Linked DNA regions of Homo sapiens: region 2 is linked to region 1. Evidence: promoter capture Hi-C in 16 types of primary human blood cells and fetal thymus (Javierre and others, 2016). All regions are on one chromosome and are shown on one strand. The core of a region is centred on a gene start or on the middle of the fragment in contact, and the rest is flanking DNA. Distances in the headings are between cores, read along the strand shown.

Evidence for each region. Contacts are between HindIII fragments. The CHiCAGO score rates a contact against its expected background, and 5 or more counts as called.
Region 2: a fragment that was not itself captured here is called in contact with the fragment with the promoter of NCOA3 in region 1 in 1 of 17 cell types (activated CD4 T cells); the score reaches 6.0 in activated CD4 T cells.

Annotation. Positions count from the first base shown.
Region 1 is chr20:47,500,577-47,503,276 of GRCh38, forward strand. It overlaps NCOA3 (nuclear receptor coactivator 3), which reads left to right and starts at 1,311. Exons shown (of 23, transcript NM_181659.3): 1 at 1,311-1,443. RefSeq lists a cis regulatory region at 227-299 and a silencer at 1,551-1,670. The HindIII fragment of the contact is 2,001 bases long and covers 642-2,642 here.
Region 2 is chr20:47,239,608-47,242,307 of GRCh38, forward strand. All of the region lies in intron 14 of ZMYND8 (zinc finger MYND-type containing 8), which reads right to left. Among named protein-coding and RNA genes, the nearest start is that of MIR3616, 74 kb to the left of the region's middle. The HindIII fragment of the contact is 5,013 bases long and covers 1-2,700 here.

The DNA.
Region 1 (2,700 bases), core at 61-2,560:
GGGGAGATTAGGGAATGGGTTATTTGAATTTTCTGGGAAAATACTGTTCTAGGCAGAGGAAATAGCAAGTGCACGATCTTTAAGGCCAGAGTGTGCTAAGCACGTTGGAGAGGCCGAGTCCATTGTAGCTGAGTTACAGAAGTGAGTGGAAGAGAAGAAGGTGATGAGTTTAGAGAGGGAAGGGCAGGGCAAGAGACGGGCTGTATGGGGCTTTGCAGGTTACTGCAAGAATTTTGCAGGAGGGACAGAGACTGACTTGGTTCTTACCAGGATTCCTCTGGCTGCTGTGTTGAGTATAGACTCTAAGAGGAAAGAGTGGAAGCAGGCAGAACACTGAGGAGGCTGTTGCAGTGGTCCAGGTGGGAAATGATGGTGCTGACCGTGGAGGTGGTAAGTGGTCAGATTATTCTATTTTATTTACACTCAACACATCTAATACTGACTCAATATTATCTAACATACAGTCCACATTGAAATTGCCCCCCAAATTCTTTTTACATAAAAAAATCATCCTGAATCCAATCAAGTCTCACCTATTGCTTTTGGTTTTCACCTCTTTCATGCTGTCATATTTTAAAAGACTCCAGGCTAGATGTTGTGTAGAATGTCCCACATTCTGAATTCGTTTATTTTTTCAAGTAAGCTTTTTGTGTGTATGTGGCAAGAATACGACAGAGGTAGCAATATGCTTTCCCCACTGCATCATATTAGGAGACACATAACAACAGTCCTGACCCATTATTGGTGGTGCTAAGTTCGATCACTTGGTAAGGGGGTGCCTGCCAGATCTTTCCATTGTAAAGCAAGCTGTTCTTTATTGTAAGTCATAAATACGCTGTGGGATGATACTTCGGGACTAAATATACCCTGAATATACTGCTGCCCAACAACATTTCACCCAGTGACTTTAGCAGCTAAGGAACAGCCTCGTGGCTTCCGACCTTGTGCCTCAGTTCGCTCATCTGAAAAATGAGGATGATCATGGTCCCTACCGGATGCTTGTTTTGAGGATCCGTGCTTGGCATACCAGAAACGCTCCACAAATGTTAGGTATTACTGGACGAAGGCAAATATGAAAAAAATTAAGGGCAGGGCTAGGACTGCATTCCGGTTCTCCGGATCCCGAGGGAGCTCCCAGTCGATGCTGGGCGAAAGCGGCCGCACGAGCCCACGTCGCCACGCCCTCCGCCGCGGAAGCCAGGGTGGGGGTCGCTGGAACCCTAGGCCGGCCGCGCAAGGCCCCCTGGGACCGGTAGTGCTGGGCGTGGCCTCGGGACTACATATCCCAGTGGCCCCCGTGCGGCGACTTTAGCTGCTGCTGTCTCAGCCGCTCCACAGCGACGGCAGCGGCTGCGGCTTAGTCGGTGGCGGCCGGCGGCGGCTGCGGGCTGAGCGGCGAGTTTCCGATTTAAAGCTGAGCTGCGAGGAAAATGGCGGCGGGAGGTGAGTGGAGATAAAGGAGGAGGCGGTGGCGGGCGAGGGGGTGGAGTGCGAGGCGGAGGGAAGAGGGGCGAGTTCCCCAGGCTGCGAGAGCCAGCGGCTTCAGATCTGCCAAGGCACTGAGGGGCGCGCCGGCCGGGGGACGCGCTGAGGTAGTTTCGGGGTGTCGGGGCCGCGCCGCTTCCCCTCAGCCCGGGGGGCGGCCCGCGGCGGTAGGAGCTGAGACGAAGCTGGGTGGCAGTCCGCTTGGGGATCCGAGGGGGTCCCCGCGCGGAGGGGTCACCCGAGGAGTTTGCGGGGGGACTGCAGGGGCCCACTTTCCCCTTCTGTCCCTAAAGTTTTTTCTTCCTCTTGCCTCCCCCAGCCCTTTTGAAAGCTCCCCGCGTCGTCCTCCTGCTGCCCCGGCTCCTTAGCAGCTTCTGGGACGCACGGGAGGGAAAAGCCGCGGGGACCCCCCCCACCCCAGCCTCCCAGCCGGGTGAGATTTGGTTGCTGTGTTTCCTCCTCACTTGGGCATTTAAAAAATATTTTAACACGAATTGTCCGCGGAATTTTCATGTTGGGCTCGGGTAGCTTCTTAGTTTTCTCGGTAAAAAGGCGTTTTACTACCTCTGGTGTGAAGGCTGGGAAATGGCAAGTGGGAAGTTGGTTGATAAAATTAGGAGTTTGGCTGTCTTTATTACTACTTTTTTTTTTTTTTTGCTCTCCCCATCTCTCATTTTATGAACATCGACCCAGTTCGTCATGGTTTAAATAAACTGCTTGTCTTGTACCTGCCTTAACAAAACTAGCCATGGGTCGTTGGGAGACTTAGTTGCTTCCTAGGCAGTTTGAGGGCATCTAGGGTGGAAAAGTTAACCGAGAGAGCGAGCATCTACCTCACTGGCAGGATCTGGGATTCCCAAATGGAATGACACGGAAGCTATGAGATTCTCTCGAAGTCGAAACTTTTTTCCCCCTCCCGAATGCGAAGACTTCCTTTTTGCAATATTTGAGCAGGGCTTCAAAACCAACCTGTTTTTGTTATTAAGCCTGTACGGTAAAGAAACAGGAAGGAGAGTACCAGCTGTCTTGCTGCAGTGGTTTTAAATGGAGTTGAATGAGATGCGTGAGAGTGGTAGTAGTATTGAGTAAGATTGCTGCATCTCTTTGATTTAAATGCCTGGCCTCGGATCCACCTAACTGATCCCTGGCTGCAAAAAAGCTTCAGTATTTGTTGCAGCAGGTTGTTGAGAAGGTGATTGGAGGAATAAAAATCTT
Region 2 (2,700 bases), core at 62-2,561, 260 kb before region 1:
AGCCAGATGGCCTCCCAATGGCCAAAGCAGTAACACTCAGTCACCCAGAAAGAAAAGTATTCTTTTCATCTCTTCTGATTCCCTCCAGGACAAAGTTTGAAGGCGGTACTGATAGCCAGGACAATACCAGGAAAACAAATTCTGCCCCAAGGCCAGAACCTTCCCCCAACGCAATGGTACTGATCTAGGATTGAGTAGCATTGCTTTGGTTTTGATTGGATTTATTCCTATCACCAGCTTTTATGTATACTGTGTGCTACTGTTCTTATTGGGTGGTGTTCAAGTCTAAAATGAGTTTATACTTGCAGATGCTTTTTTCAGGGGAAATTTTTTTACTAAAAAAATGAGGCCAAGCACGGTGGCTCACGCCTGTAATCCCAGCACTTCGGGAGGCTGAGGCAGGCGGATCACTTGAGGTCAGGATTTTGAGACCAGCCTGACCAACATGGGGAAACCCCGTCTCTATTAAAAATACAAAAAAATTAGCCAGACGTGGTGGGAAACTGAGGCAGGAGAATTCCTTGAACCCAGGAGGCGGAAGTTGCAGTGAGCCGAGATCGCGCCACTGCACTCCGGTCTGTGAGAAAGAGTGAGTGAGACTCCGTCTCAAAAAATATTACTAATAGGCCGGGCGCAGTGGCTCACGCCTGTAATCCCAACACTTTAGGAGGCTGAGGTGGGCGGATCACTTGTGGTCAGGAGTTCAAGAGCAGCCTGGCCAACATAGTGAAACCCCGTCTCTACCGAAAATACAAAAATAGCCGGGTGCGGTGGCAGGCGCCTGTAGTCCCAGCTACTCAAGAGGCTGAGGCAGAAGAATCGCTTGAACCCGGGACGTGGAGGTTGCAGGGAGCCGAGACCATGCCATTGCACTCCAGCCTGGGTGACAGGGTGAGACTCCGTCTCAAAATAATAATAATAATAAATGAAAAGTAAATAAAATGAGTTTATTTTATTTATTTATTGAGATGGATTCTCACTCTGTCACCCAGGGTGGAGTGCAGTGGCACAAACTTGGCTCACTGCAACCTCCGCCCTCTGAGTTCAAGCGATTCTCCTGCCTCAGCCTCCCGACTACGTGGGATTACAGGCGCCTGCCACCGCACCCAGCTAATTTTTTTTATTTTCAGCAGAGACGGGGTTTCGCCATCTTGCCCAGGCTGGTCTTGAACTCCTGACCTCATGATCCATCCGCCTTGGCCTCCTAAAGTGCTGGAATTACAGGCGTGAGCCAACGTGCCCGGCCTATTTTATTTTATGTTTTAAAGAGATAGAGTTTTGCTATATCACCCCGGCTGGGCTCAAGCAAGCCACTTCAGCCTCCCGAATAGCTGGGACTACACGGGACGTGCTACTGTGTCCCGCTTTAAATGAGCTTAATTTTATTTTTAAAGAATGAGATTCTTGGCCGGGTGCAGTGGCTCACGCCTGTAATCCCAGCACTTTGGGAGGCCGAGGCGGGCAGATCACGAAGTCAGGAGTTCGAAACCAGTCTGGCCAACATGGTGAAACCCCATCTCTACTAAAGATACAAAAAATTAGCCGGGCATGGTGGTGTGTGCCTATAATCCCAGCTACTTGGGAGGCTGAGGCAGGAGAATCGCTTGAACCCATGAGGCAGAGGTTGCAGTGAGCCGAAATCGCCCCATTGCACTCCAGCCTGGGTGACAGGGCGAGACTCCGTCTCAAAAAAAAAAAAAAAAAAAAGATTCTTTAAATAAAAAAAGTCAAAAATTATACAAGCAGGACTTGAGAACGGGAAAGACAATGAATGTGAATGACTCAAGTTTGAAAAACGCTGCCATATGGAGTATGTCATCTTGGAGGAGCTGGGCTGGTGGGGAATAAAGGGTAGGATTTCAACAGGCGGAAAGTGAGAATCTGGAGGGAACAGCATCAGCCAAGATATGTCTAGGAATACAGAGCATTTGAGTAAGTGAGGGCAGGCAGGGAGGAGGGGCTGGAAGGGAGGTTAGAGCCAGAAGCACTGAGCAGCACGTAGAGGCGATGACCACACGGGAGCTCATTTGTAAAGGTGGCTCAGTTATGGATGCACAGGCCTCAGCCCCCGGTAAGGTGAGCCTATGCCCCAGAGAGGATATCTGGGGAACACACACCACACCCAGGTACAAGCCAGCACCCCGATCTTGGACTATGCTCCCTGACATCAAACTCCTTTAAATAAGGATTATGTCTGCCTCTTTTTCTTTTCTTTTTTTTTTTTTTTTGAGATGGAGTCTTGCTCTGTCACCCAGGCTGGAGTGCAGTGGCGCGATCTCGGCTCACTGCAAGCTCCGCCTCCTGGGTTCACACCATTCTCCTGCCTTAGCCTCCCGAGTAGCTGGGACTACAGGTGCCCGCCACCATGCCCAGCTCATTTTTTGTATTCTCAGTAGAGGCGGGGTTTCACTGTGTTAGCCAGGATGGTCTCAATCTCCTGACCTTGTGATCCACCCGCCTCGGCCTCCCAAAGTGCTGGGATTACAGGCGTGAGCCGCTGCGCCCGGCCTATGTCTGTCTTTTTAAGATCAGTATTACCCAGAAAAAGACATGAGCCTGATTACTCCAGCAAGGATTTTCATTCAGTAAGCTGTGGGTTTTAAGAAGCCAAGGAGGGAAAGAGACAAGCTGACTATCCCGACTTCAGAGGGCGTTCTCGATGGTTATCGAGATGTTGCTGGCCCTTGTACTTCCCCAGAG